2 separate regions of the Homo sapiens genome follow, and region 2 is linked to region 1. Evidence: promoter capture Hi-C in human tissues and cell types (Jung and others, 2019). All regions are on one chromosome and are shown on one strand. The core of a region is centred on a gene start or on the middle of the fragment in contact, and the rest is flanking DNA. Distances in the headings are between cores, read along the strand shown. Region 1 holds the start of RPL41 (ribosomal protein L41). Region 2 holds the start of LRP1 (LDL receptor related protein 1).

Region 1 (6,367 bases), core at 2,580-5,079:
ACTCTTCCTGACTATAAAGCAGGTGGCCCAGAGGGGCAATGGCTTTAGAGATGGAGAATCTAAGGGATAAGAATTCTGGCTGAAATGTCTGACTCATCAAAAGCCCCTCCCAGGGTTTTGTGCACCTGGTCTGGGTCAGAATGATTCACACTTGCCTGGCTAACGGAGGAGGGATAGGCCCAGGACGGAGCAGGGAAAAAATAGTGTTGGAATTCATCTTTCCTTTTGAGCTGACCTTATTAAAGTTGTGGAAGTGAAATTAAAACTGCAGTCAGTATCTGAATAGTCTGGAAGGAAACTGGGAATAGTGCCCAAGATGGGCTACTGAGCTACTAGGGCTGTAGAAGATGGGACACTGGTAACAAAACTTCCTTAACCCCCTTTCCTTTTCCTCAGGTAAGGGCTCTGTACACATCAAATCTCTAGAAGCCAAGAAATCCTGGGTGAAGAGACTGGTGTCACCAGCTTGAGGGGAGTCTCAAAACCTGTCATATTTTAGTATTCCCTCCCAGCCATCATCACTGTCAACGGCAGAGAGGTAAGCCCCTTCTATTTCAGGATAGGAGTTCTAAGTTAGAGTCTCCACTTCTAGATTTCCTAGGACAAACCATTTGTGATAAGGTCAAGTGGGAAGGAGTTAATTTCACAGGAACAAGTGACCTTTCCCCATTCCCCACCCCCTTCCTACTCCCCTATGTGAAGATCCCACTGACATCCAACCACACCATTCCTCAACCCAGAAAGATCCTCTTTATTTATAGACTCCATAAAAGCTTTTTAAGTCTCCTATTTCCCAAGAGAGCTTTGGAATGTCAGTCCACTGCCCTGGTTCTAGCCCTCCCCTCTCTCCACCCCCAGTAAGACCTGGAGTCCCTGCTACCACGTGTCTGACCTCCCAAGCCTTTCCTATGCGGTGTTCAGGCTCCCCCTGCTGCTGAAATAGGAAAACTTCATATTGTTCCCTTTGAGAATAAGGGAATCTTTCCTAATTCCTTTGGCCTTGACCTACCCCCACCCCACTACTGTGACTTTGCCTTCAGATCTCCCTAAAATGAACTAACCAAACCAGAGGCCAGAGTTACAAGAGAATCTGTAAGAGGGTCCTCCTCCTCTAAAGAGAGGTAGTCCCAGAATAATAGAAGCAATCAAGGAAAGAAGTGGTAAAAGAAGATACAAACTTTTAGTAAAGGGGAATGACCAGGTGAAGTACAAATGCCATCTATCCAAGCCTGGCTCACGTTGCAAGTCGCACCAGCAGCAGATAATTAGTTATGATGCTCCTCCCCACCCCACTCTCCCAGAATTGATACCTGAGGTAGCTCAGGTGAAGTCCGGGGCTCCTGTGGGTCTCCACCTCCACATCACTGCTGGGTTCTGAGCAGGAAAAAAACAGAGACTTGGGTGGAAGAAGGAGTAAGAGTGGAGGACTATGGGGTGGTTGTCACAAGAAATCTGACAAAACGGCAAAGCTTCGAGAACGTGAGGATTTCCTCAGGGTTCAAACTGAACTTCACCTGTCCAAGGGAGAAGTTGCCAGTAAGAAGAGTAAAACTAATTCGGAGGGACTGGGAGGAGGGGTTGGAAAACCAGCCCTGAGTGAACAAAGAGTGCGGGGCGCCCTGCCTCAAGATGAAAGAGGATGTGAGGGTCAGAGCACCGCCAAGGGCTGGAGTTAGTAATGGCTAGTGAGGAACCTCAAAAAGGCAGCGTCTGACAGTGCATTGGGATGGCCGATTAGACTTGAAGGCAGTGATTGTGACGCTTCCCAACACCCTAGAGTTTGCGAAAGAAGTCCTAGGAGTTTTCCCGCAGCAAGTCTTCTAGCTTGGCAGGTTCCGTGCAGTGCCGCCGGCGCTCAGCCGTGGGCTACGTGAATGGGACACTAAGGGCGCGCGAAGTGAAGCGGGGAGCTGGAGCTCCAGGTGTCATCAAGCTGAGGGGATGGGCAGGGTTGTGACGTCACGAAGCTGGCGTTTGCTCGCGATGCGGGGTCACTCAGAAAAGGGGCACTGCCCTGGGGTGTGAGGACGAGCCAGCTCGGTTCTGGGGGGCCTTCTGTGGCCTGGCCGAGCCCAGCCGCTGGGCCGGCCCCGACTCCTCCCCTCCGGGCGCGGCCTCCACCTAAGTCTCCCGCCTCCCTCACCTGCCGCCGCCGCCGTAGTTGCTGCTGCCGCCTGCCGGTCCTCTAGCTTCGACAAAGAGCCGCCTACCCGATCGCTCTTCCGCTTCCTGCGGAAGAAGTGACGCTCTAGCCAGCAGACCCGGAACCATACTCTATGGTGTATGAAGTACGCGTGCGACATGCCGCAGGGCGTTCCCAGCACGCTTTGCGTGTCACTATGGCAACCCAACCCAAAGGCACGACATGGTCTAAGCGGTAGTCGCCAAGGCAGCCCTCCTGGAAAGGGGCGGTACCAGCATTGGCCCCTAATAACCCGCGAAACCTAAAACCTGCCTCCAGAGACGTACCATATCCCATCCAACTCCAGCGAGATGCAAACCACACCACGTAACCCGGGCTGTTGCCTTTATAGCTTTGATACCCTCCATAGCACAGGTAGTGACAGGGCAAACTCTAATGACAGAAAACCCCCACCCGATGGAACCATAAAAAACATAATAGACAAGATGATTTAATTCTTCAGCTAAAACAGCGGAAGAGGTGATTTATTATATGGTTGTTACACTCGGCCACAAATAAACACAGAAATAGTCCAGAATGTCACAGGTCCAGGGCAGAGGACCAACATGGGCATTTTGTTTATGAGCAAGGTGGGTCTCAGAGGTGATCGGCGATCAGAGGGCGATGAAGTTCTAGATCCATTGAGACAAGCTCTAGACAGTAGCATGCAGTCCCACAACTTGTACCAGCATCCCCAGCGTCTGGCATTCCATGTTTCTGCTCCTGTGGCCTCCACGGTGCAACAAGCTAGCGGTTTACTTGGACCTCTGCCTCATCTTTCTTCTTTTGCGCTTCAGCCTGAAAAGCAGACACAGGAATGGAATACACCTCAAACCAGAGTTGCCTTTCCCTCCCACATTAAATCAAACGTCCACATAAAGAATGAGGTGGTAAAATGAACAAGCACTACGGTTCTATCGTTCTCTGTTCTGTTAAATCCTGGCTCCAGGGAGAAAACACTCAAACGTTTTTCTCCTAAAGATCTTTTAAGATTTCCAAACCAAATGTTTCTCCTAAGTTTTGTCCAAGGAACTTCCCTCCTCCTGGGCTGGCAAAGTCTCAACGTACCTGCGCATTCGCTTCTTCCTCCACTAGCAACCGATCACAAGCAGCAGATAATTAAAAAAAAAAAAAAAAAAAAGGGATGAAGCTTATTAGTAGGCTTAGCAAGGATATGAAATGCACTCTTTAGAACCGGACAGATTCTTAACCAAGAAGTATGAAAGATTGGTCGTAACAACTACATCAGTAACTTGGACACCCTCCCAACATAAGATCAGAATTCCACCCTTTTCTAAGCCCACCCTCTCTACCCATAGCACTTAACCGCTAGCTCTCTCACAAACTACCTTCTCTCTCCCACCAGCTCTTGGGCACCCTTGAAACCCAGTAGTTCAGGAGGTATGGCGGACTTGCCTTCGTCTCCTCGCTACTACTCGCCAACTCCTACCTCCCAAGCTTACTACCAGGAACCGCTCACCTTGGCTCTCATGGCGCAGAGGTTTCTACAGGGAAAGAGAGAAAGGCTACAGTTAGTTTGCTGTGATGATGCTAAGTGCCGAGGTCAGATGTCTATGGATTGTACACGGAATCCCAACGCAGGAACCAAAAAACACTCACCCAAAAAAATGGCGCTAAGGCCGAGAGAAAGGCGAAGTTCCGTCTACGGCTATTTAATGGAGCGCCGGGTGTCGTCACTTCCGCTTTCACGCCCTTTGCCCCCCCCAAGGGCGGGGCTACCCAATGGGCGTAACAGTGGTTTTCGGACCCTCTTGTAGAAGGGTAGGTTGAGTTAGTTCTTTCGGAAGACCGAGTATTTGGTTTTCGAGTTACCAGTTCCCCCCCAGATTTAGTATGAGGACGCTGTGTTATTTAAACGTCAGCACCTATTTCCAATATTGGACCTAGAGGTGCAGACGGGGAAAAAATAGTGACCGCCACCTTCCCTCGCATTGCTTCTTGGGAGTTGCAGTTCCCTGGAGAAGTCCTCCATTTTGCTATGGATAGGCGCGGACTGTACAGAAATTCTTGTTTTACTGGTTTGCCTTCTTTTCTTTCTTTCTTTCTTTCTTTCTTTCTTTCTTTCTTTCTTTCTTTCTTTCTTTCTTTCTTTTCTTTCTTTCTTTCTTTTTTTCTTTTTTGAGACAGGATCTCACTGTGTCACCCAGGCTGGAGTGCAGTGACGCGATCTCGGCTCACCGCAATTTCCGCCTCCTGAATACAAGCGATTCTCCCGCCTCAGCTTCCCGAGCAGCTGGGACAACAGGCGCGCGCCACTTGGCTAATTTTTGTATTTTTAGTAGAGACGAGGTTTCGCTGTGTTGCCCAGGCTGGTCTCGAACTCCTGAGCTCAAGCGATCCGCCCGCCTCGGCCTCTCAAAGTGCTGGGATTACAAGCATGAACCACCGCGCCCAGCCGGTTTGCCTTATTTTCTAAAATAAATTGCTGCAGGGTGATTCGATTCCGGAACCATCGAAGGTCCTAAGATTTCAGAACATAGGAAGATATAAAGTGGGGATTCGGGAAAGCTGCCATACTTCAAAAAATATTTTCTCACTGTTTAAGATAGAGCAATTATTTTTCCTAAATTTCAAGAATAAAATAGCTGATTATGGTCTTCCCCCACGATGCCCGAAGCAAAATATCACTAGAGATTCCTGGCTACAATGCATCATTTGTTCAGAAAATACGTCAGCGGGCTGGGCACGGTGGCTCATGCCTGTAATCCCAGCGCTTTGGGAGGCTGAGGTGGGGGAATCTCGAGCCCAGGAAGTCGAGGCTGCAGTGACCTATGCAGTGATTCTCTAGGGGTGAAGAGCGAACCAACGGACATAGGGAGAAAATTACCTAAATCTAGGGAAAGTATGACATTTGGTGTTAAGATAAAGAACTTCCCAGTTTGATTGTATGCTCAGGTGAGAAGCACTGGAAAACAACCAGATCCCCTAAGATTTGGCTACAGGAAACTTTTGAGTTAATGGGGGATGAAAAAGAACCCTTTCCCTATAGAGACTTCATCTTACAGTTTTAAAATACTGTAACATTTTGTATGTGATTGTTACAATCCCTCTTTTTTTGTGGTTTCCCTTTATTATATTCCAGGATAGCATTTCACTTTCAATCCCTGAAAAACGTTTTTAAAATTAGGTTCCTTCTAAGTAGTTGTAGTATTGTCACCACCCAAATATATATGACAATTTTTTTGAAACAAAAAAAATCCTAGCAGAATTATTTTGTATCAGTTCCACCAAGATTTCAACTGATGATTGCCAACTAGTTTATAAGCTCTTTGAGGGAAATTTTGTTTGCTTGTTTTTGATACGGAATGGAATCTCACTCCTGTCACCCAGGCTGGAGTGCAGTGGCGCGATCTTGGCTCACTGCAACCTCCGCCTCCTGGGTTCAAGCGATTCTCCTGCCTCAGCCTCCCAAGTAGCTGGGATTACAGGCGCCCGCCACTAAGCCTGGCTTTTTATATTTTTAGTAGAGATGGGGTTTCACCATGTTGGCCAGGCTGGTCTTGATCTCCTGACCTCAGGTGATCTGCCTGCGTCGGCCTCCCAAAGTGCTGGAATTACAGGTATAAGCCACCGCACTTGGCTGTTTTTTTCTTTTTTTAATAGACTTAATTTTTTAGAACAGTTTTAGGTTCACAGCAAAATTGAGAAAGGTATAGACATTTCCCACACATATAGCCTCCCCCTTTATAAACATCACTCCACCCTGCCAGAGTGGTACATTTGTTAACAATAGAACCTACGTTGATATACCATTATCACCCCAAATCCATAGTTTAGTTTACACTAGGGTTCACTCTTGGCATTGGCATTGTACATTCTTTGCCTTTGGACAAATGCGTAAGCAAGGAGAGAGAGATGAACAGGCAAAACACAGAGGATTTTTAGGGCACTAAAACTACTCTATTTTAATGGTAGATATACATCATTACACATTTGACCTGTGTTCAGTTCTGTTCACTTGTAGTATCTCTAGTTTAGCAATTCCTGACATGTAGTAAGATAAACTAATTACCCATCTGACCTTAGTCTGGCCCTGAAAACTAGTGTACCATTCTTCCTGGCTTCTTGAATTCAAGATAAACACTTGCAGTACTGTTTTTGCAGTAGACATTGTGTCCTAGCCCCAAACAAATCTTAGCAGTGAGGACTGTTTCTACTTAGAAA
Region 2 (7,191 bases), core at 4,105-6,604, 1.0 Mb before region 1:
TAGAGGTGCTTCTTAAAGGACAAGGAGACTCAGGGACTGCAAAAGCATGACAGGGACTCTTGGGGCCCTTTTTAAGAGTGGACACAGCAGAAGGAGAGATAGGCTCCCCTCTGAGCTAGGTGAGAGGGGGGTTCTCTAAAGGGAACCACATGATATAGCTAAGGGAACAGAGTGGGAGGAGGATGCTCAAGGTGCGGGGGGTGGGGTGGGGGGGCGGCGCGGGGACAGAGCCTGCAGGAATCTGAATTTTCGACCTTATGGGGGTGGGGCAGCAAGGGCCTCCCAAACCCAAACCGAGAGGTTTTCACTGAATTTTTTGTATTTTGGGTGTTGCCCAGTGGCTCTTTCCTGAGGCTCAGACACATTTTTGTCATTCCTGAGTCTGGGCCTCTGCTTTGCGGCCTGGACAGACAGACAGACAGGGTGGCTTGGACAGCCAGGGGAGGGGAAGGGTCTCCGCTTCCATTCTGAGTCAATATTGATGCAGCAGGACATTAGCCTGACCCGTGACCTCCCCCACCAGCTTTTCCTTTCCCCACAAATAAAAGCCAGACCCCCAGAAGGCCTCCAGAGGTCACCATATCACTCACCAGGCATTTCTAAGCCTCCTCTCCTTCTCCCCCCACCCCAGCCACACACACAGCTTATGCTCACCAGAGTAAAAGCTCCAAGTTCTTGACTCACTCCTTACATCTTTCTCCAGTTCTTAGGCTCCTGGTCAGGAGGAAGTTCTGCCAGAAGTCTAACCTCCCTCCTTCCTTCTGAAATACCTCCTTTCTCCCTCTTAGCCCACAAAGGGTATCAAGTTCCTTTCTTCCAGAAACATTCTCTCCAAAACCCATTCCCCAAATTAGTGGAGGGGGAAGAAGAAAGAGGAAGTCGGAGGAAAGTGGAGAGGAAACTTTTGGTGCTGAACTGGACACTGGGTCTGGCCAGGAAGGGGGAAAAATAGCCAAAACAGAGGGGAGGGAGCCAGGGGGTGAGTGGGAAAGCCCAGAGAGACTCTTGCTCCCAAGAAGCTTTTGGGATACCAAGAGGCCTGGATGGGGGTAAATGGAGACAGGCAGAGAAAAATAAGACAAGTGACAGAGACGCAGAAAGCAGGGCAGAGAATGTCACAAAGGTTCGGCAGTAAGAGATGAACTGAGAGGGTGAGAGACAGAGAGGTTCTAAAAAGCCAAGACAGCGCACACTAATGACAGACAGACAGAAAGACAGACAGACAGCCAGAAAAGCCAGGAAGGGGGCTCAGTCCAGAGATTGCCAAGGGGATGACACAGTTGTCCTGGGATGAACCCAGAGAATGACTACCCCGCTGAGCCTAGAGTAGGGTGGGAGCAAGATCTGTCCTATCTTGGAGAGACAGAGTCTCGGCCCTAGGCAGTGCCTGACTCAAGGGAGACCCAGAATAGGGACCACTACCACCCCTGGAGTCAGGAGGGTAGAAAGGAGGGAGGAAAATGGAGCTCTTCAGCCAGGGAAGCTAAGGCCTGGTGGGAGAGGGAGAGGCTTTCATCTCCCCTAGGGGAGCAAGAGGGACAACTCTCCACATATACCCCTCACCTCTTTCCCAGGGAGGGTTTATATTGGTGCCTGAGGCCATTGCACCGGAAACACTCCAAAGCCAACTGCTTCCTTCTCCAAACAATGCAGGATCCTGCTAACCAGGCTGAAATCTGGGACAGAAGAGGGAGGCAGGTTCTCTATCGCTCATACCCAGCACTACCAAGTCAGGGGCCTTCCTGCAGTACCATTCAGCTGCACCCAGATGCCCCAAGAGCAATGAGCCCACACGCAGAGCTGGAGGACCTGAAAGGTAAAGAGTCTGAGGAGTGAGGAGGACCCTGAGAAGAGAGTACTGGGCGGGAATAAACCTAGGCTTGGGGGTTCTGATGTGCAAGGGCTCACACTGCAGCAGGAGGAAAGAGAGATAGACTTGAGTAAGGAAGGGCTTCCCAAAAGGTAAGGAAGGGGTTTTGAAGAATGGGGGCATCTGGACAGGAACTGACTCTGGCCAGGACCTGGGCTGTCATCCTTTGGGAGGCTCAGTGGTGGAAGGGTGGTTGAGAAAATGAAGAGAGGAGAGAGAACAAGATCAGAAGAAAAAGATGTCTAGTGAAGCAGCCCTAAACATCAAAATATCCCTCCAACCCCAAAATGAATTTCTTACACATTCTTGCTTTAAAAGACAACGAGGCAAAGGGAGACGTTTAGGATGTGAGTCTGATCAGGGAGAAAGGAGTTTAGAACTTTCTCTCAGGGATCCAGGAAGCTAACACCCCAGCTTCATAACTCACTTCCACTGTACCTACTCTAGTAACTGGTAATATGCCGGCTCAAGGGGGTGTGTGGAGGAAGGTCAGGAAAAAGGGAGGGAGGAAGTCAGCCTTATTCTGTGAGCTGTATTTGTCTGGGGGTGCCCTCCCCACTAGAAAATGTTCCCCAATCTCAGCAGGGCCCTCAATAGTCCCATTCTCCACCCCATCTTTCTGCAACCTCTCCAGCAGCAGGTACACTCAATTTTGTCGCTAGTGGGGAGTGACGTTACTCCCCAAAGGGCAGGGGACCCCAGAGGCAGTTTCAGGCATAGAAGAGAAAGCAGAAGAGGTGGGAAAGCCCCTAGGATTGCTGCCCTGGAGAGAAAGCAGCAAGGCTGTGATAGCAGGAGGAAGGTAACATACTAAGTCAGGTGAGCTGGGTCATCTCCATTCTCTGGAAAGTAAACAAGAAAGTTCAATGTTGATGGACCCTGAGGCAAGAGGGCAGGGGTTAGGGATAAGGGATCCCCTAGGCTGCCTCTGGATAGAGTTGAACTTACATTTCTATGCAATTCCCCTTTCTCACCACCCTGTACCCAAGAGTGGGGTGGAGCTGATTATTTATATTCCCACTCCCAAGGCAGAAATATTGGTGTGTGTTTGGGGAGGGGTCCTCTCCTGGGGCTTTGGATAGTTTGATCTGAGCTGGAGATACAGAGGGGGCGTGGGTGAACATTTTAAGAAAGGGTAGGGAGATAGTTAAGGAGAACATGTCCAGTCTCTCTCTTCCACTAACTTGGTGTGGCAAATAGAACTCCTTTAGAGCCCTGGGAGTGATGCTATCTGGGGTCCCTTCCTGACCTTCCCTGCTCTCCACAGAAACCCTCTTGCTTCTGCCTAACTCTAGCCACCCTCCTTCAAGGGGCTCCTGATGGGTCTCTCTCTCTCTCAAATTTTTTTTCTATTCCTCCCAGAAGCGGCTGCAACCCCAATCTCCCTGCCTCGATTTCCCTTCTCACCTCACAGGGCTGAGAACAAGAGAAAAACACATGATAATGACAGGAGTTATAGGCAGAAGCCGGCTGTGCGGCATCTGGAGGATATTCAGGAAAAGCCCCTCTCCTCCTCCGGGGCAGCTAATTGGTGGGGTGGGGGTGGGGGGTAGAGAGTCCCCAAGATGGCACAACTGAGGGACACTAAATATGTTTTTTGGGGACACAGCTGCTTCCTGACCCTGTAAGTCTCCTCCCCCAATTGAAGCAAGTTAGGGAGAGGGAGGGAGATAATCTGGTTTCAGAGAAAAACTTTCCCAATCCCAATCTGGCAAGACAGAGGAGGGGGTGTATGATGGTATCCAGCCCAGTTTTGTCTTTGGATGAGAGGGCTAAGATGACAGGAGGGGATGAGATCCCACCCCTTCTCAAATCAGGGACCTAGCCCAGCCCAACCCCATGACCCCAGCTTAATGCTTAAAGCTTGGGCAAGACTTGAACCAGTGACTCACAAGTAGGAGAAAAAAACAGCTGACAAAAAAAGGGAAGAGAGGCACCCCATTTCCCCAAAAGGATGCAGTTCTAGCCTAAGCCTAACTCTGCAATATACAAAGTGTGTGTGTATGGGGTTTTGGGCTTGGAGGGGTGCAGGGAATAAACAGATTTACTAAAGGAGTGTGGGGGCACAGCCATAATCCCCATCCAACCTCCAACTCTCCTTCCAATCCAAACTGTGATGAAGCCAGAAGTCAGGAAGAAGGCAGCCTCCCCCACCCTCCTACCCCAGCATTCCAGGCCATTCTCCAGTCCCCTTCCCCAGTGATGACATCTGACGTTTTTTCATCTCAAAGCTCCCAGGAATTAAGAAGGAAAATTCAAAGTCACATAGTATGGCGAGCTCCCCCTCTCTGCCCCCCAACACAGCCCTACCCCAGGCTACTGACAGAGGCCCTGAGAGGGGGAAGAGCCTACTTCAGCACCCAGGCCTCCAGCCGGGGCTCTGGGGTCGATTCCACGCCCAAGCAGGGGGCCCTCCCTCTCCCCACCCACAGCCTTCCCGGGCCTGCCTGCCCTCTGCCCGGCAGGGTACCCCTGGCCTGGCTCCCCTTTCGAGCTACAGAGGCCAGTGCAAAAGCCACCCCCCCCACCCCCACCCCCTTTTGCAGCCGAACATTGCAAATCCGGATTCCTTCACAATTCAGATGGGGGGTGGGGGGTTGTGAGGATGTAGGGGAGGCGGAGGCCCTCCCCGAACAGAGATAGGAAAAGAAGGCCTCTCCTCCCCAGGATCAGAAAAATGGGGAGCCCTCTTCTCTCTACCCAGGCCTCTGGTCTTTGTTTGTGCTGGGGGGCCCCGGAAGCATCATTTGCCCAGGGCCCCCATCCCCCAAATCGGACCCCATCCCCGCCCCCAGTCGGGCCGCTGCTGTGTCAGCTGGACTGGGATAACAAAAGGCACCCCCTCCCGCGTCTCCCTTCCCCATCCGTATGCAGGAGTGGGGGCTGGGGAGAGGGTGCCCCCAGGGGTCCAAGGGGGACGCGGAATCTCACTCACCGTCGATAGCCGCCGCGACCAGAGCTGAGAGCAGGGGCAGCAGCAGGAGCAACGGCGGGGTCAGCATGGTGTGGGCTGATGCAAGCAGCAGCCCCTTCCCCTCTGGTCCTGCTACTTCTCTCCTTCACCCCCCCCAGTTGGGGGGTCCCCCTTTTCCTCCTTTCCCCCTCCTCCTTCTCTGTTCTTATTCTTTCCTTCGGCAAAGCGCACCAGGGGCGTGGGTGAAGAGGTAGAGTTCCGAGCCCCTTGGGGAGGGCCTGCTGACGGGGGTGCGCCCCCTGCCCCGAAATCCAAACCCTTCACCCCACCCCCCCGCTTCACTCCTCGCTGCTCTTTCCCCCTCCCCGGGCGAAGCTCACAGCCCCATCTCGGAGCCGCCTCCGGCTGCAAAAATGCACAATTGGGAGGAGGCGGGGAGGGGGGGTGGGGGGCGTGGACCGGGTAGGGGAGCCTTTGGAGGGGGCTTGATGGAGCTCTGGGGGCTCCCCTTGTTTCCGCCTCCTCAGTGCATGGGCCTGGAGCTCGCACCGCTGTTCCCCGGACTGAAGTGCCGAGGGGGGGGCTGATGGGGGAGAGGGAGGGGACGGGTTGAGGAGGGAGGGAGGGAAGGGGCGGGGAAAGAAAAAAGGTTGGTGGGTGGGGGGAGAAAGAGCTACGCGGCAATCCAGTGAGTGCGCATGCGCCGATTTGACGCGCTGCCCGGGGGAGGGCGACGCGGACCCGCGACAGGGTTCGGAGTTCTGGAAAGCGGTCCAAGAGTGAGGGTCCCGGGGACTCGCTGGCTAGTTTGGGGCCTGGGGCGCCCTCTCCCCTGGCTGGGCCCTCCTCCCTGGTGCTCCAGAGAGCAGAAGGGGTCGAGGGTGGGATTGGGCAGTGGGCGGAGAGCTGAGCGGCTCCCCTTTGAAACTCAGTGTCATACTCTAGGATTTCAGGCTCCCTCCGGGGGCGTCCGGGACTCAGTGGTCTGGGCCGAGGCTCGATTTTCTAGGGGAACCCTGAAGGTGCCTCCTCTGCCCGGGGTGGGGACAGGGACCGCCAGTCCGCGGGGAAGGTGCAGGGAAAGGCTGAGCTTTGATTTGGAGACTTTGGAAGACCGGACTGGGATTGGGGCCTGCGAAGGAGGGGGCGGGGTTGGGGAGGGACCGCGAGGACCCGCCCCCACCTCGCTCCCGGGCTCGGAGTAAACAGGGACACCCGAGGGGACACGCCGGAGCTTGTCCGCCCGCGTGGGGCTCGGGGATGGAGCCCACCTTAGTACCCGCCCGCCCTGCTCGCCCAGCCCTAGGCGCGGGAGGGGCAGGCCCTGGTTTGGAGGGAGGTGAGTCACCAGCGGGTGGGGTTGAGGAAAGGCCACCCCCTTTCGCCCAAGAAGTCGGGGCTCATTTATTTTTCTGTTTTTTTTTTTTTTTTTTTTTTTAATACCTTCTGACTGGCTTGCCATCAAGTTAGGGTTTTAGATTCCGAGCGCCAGGATTTGGAATAAGATGAGGGACTCTGGACCTTCGTTTCCAGGCCTCGGGTTCCAAGGAGGTGTCTGCTGAGCGCCGGACCTTTGTCCCCAGGCTCAGCCCACACGGGAATGATACTTTGCAGAAGGCAGGCGCCAGGCGGTTCCCAGGGGCCAGTGAACGTGCTTTTGGTCACTGCCCCCTTCTGGGCGGCGTTTTATGGCTGTTACCTTAGTGTCTGACTTTCTAGGTGTCTGCATGTCAGAGTTCAAGGAGCGGGGCAGACGACGTCGGCTGCCAAAAATTGACGCTGGAGAGGAGGGACTGTTCCCCCTTTTACGTTCTAGTTACGGAAAAGTCCCCACTCCAGTCTGTCCTTGGCAGAAACAGGAGCAGCACGAAGGACTTGCCTCCTAATGACAGTGAGCTCAACCTTTAGCTTCTTCCAGCCGGCTTTGCTCAGCGCGGTGGCCACCTGCCTTTAGTCTCCTGGGCTAGAAACCTCAGACTTTATGCCAACTCAAGGGGGCCTTTCCTTCCTATATCCAATCTTGCCAGCCTGTGCTCCAGGCTTGTCATTTTTTTCCTCTGAAGTATATCTCAGATTTCCTCCATTTCCACTGCCAGAGAGTTGCTCCAGGCAGGAACGGGGTCTTATTTCTCCTTTTATCCAGCTCCCATGGCCCAACACAATGTGAGACGCACTATGCGGACTCACCAAATGCCTACGAGGTTCCTCCCAGGGCCCCTCCCAGTATTGGGATCCAAGTGAAATCAGGTCGAAACAGACTTTAGACAGCTTGACAGCTTTGAGAGGAAAACGGTATCTGGAGCAACCACATGTAGCCTGAGGGCTTGAAGGGGCTTTCCTCCCTCCCCCTACCCATCTGTCAGGTGAATCTTCCAAAAACTGCTTTCCCGGTGTCTCTTCCTTGCTG

The links. Contacts are between HindIII fragments. The study calls those that stand out against the background at their distance.
Region 2: a contact is called between the fragment with the promoter of LRP1 here and the fragment with the promoter of RPL41 in region 1, in 1 of the 25 tissues and cell types used here (thymus).

Annotation. Positions count from the first base shown.
Region 1 is chr12:56,114,095-56,120,461 of GRCh38, reverse strand. RPL41 (ribosomal protein L41) reads right to left here and starts at 3,829. Exons shown (of 3, transcript NM_001035267.2): 1 at 3,663-3,829; 2 at 3,251-3,273; 3 at 2,495-2,980. The coding sequence starts at 3,674. The coding sequence ends at 2,938. ZC3H10 (zinc finger CCCH-type containing 10) reads right to left here and starts at 2,196. Exons shown (of 3, transcript NM_032786.3): 1 at 2,144-2,196; 2 at 1,311-1,374. RefSeq lists a silencer at 2,472-2,521 and an enhancer at 4,188-4,237. The HindIII fragment of the contact is 6,838 bases long and covers 2,402-6,367 here.
Region 2 is chr12:57,126,646-57,133,836 of GRCh38, reverse strand. It overlaps LRP1 (LDL receptor related protein 1), which reads right to left and starts at 5,354. Exons shown (of 89, transcript NM_002332.3): 1 at 4,806-5,354. The coding sequence starts at 4,872. RefSeq lists enhancers at 1-295, 2,443-2,612, 5,694-6,347. The HindIII fragment of the contact is 3,919 bases long and covers 2,377-6,295 here.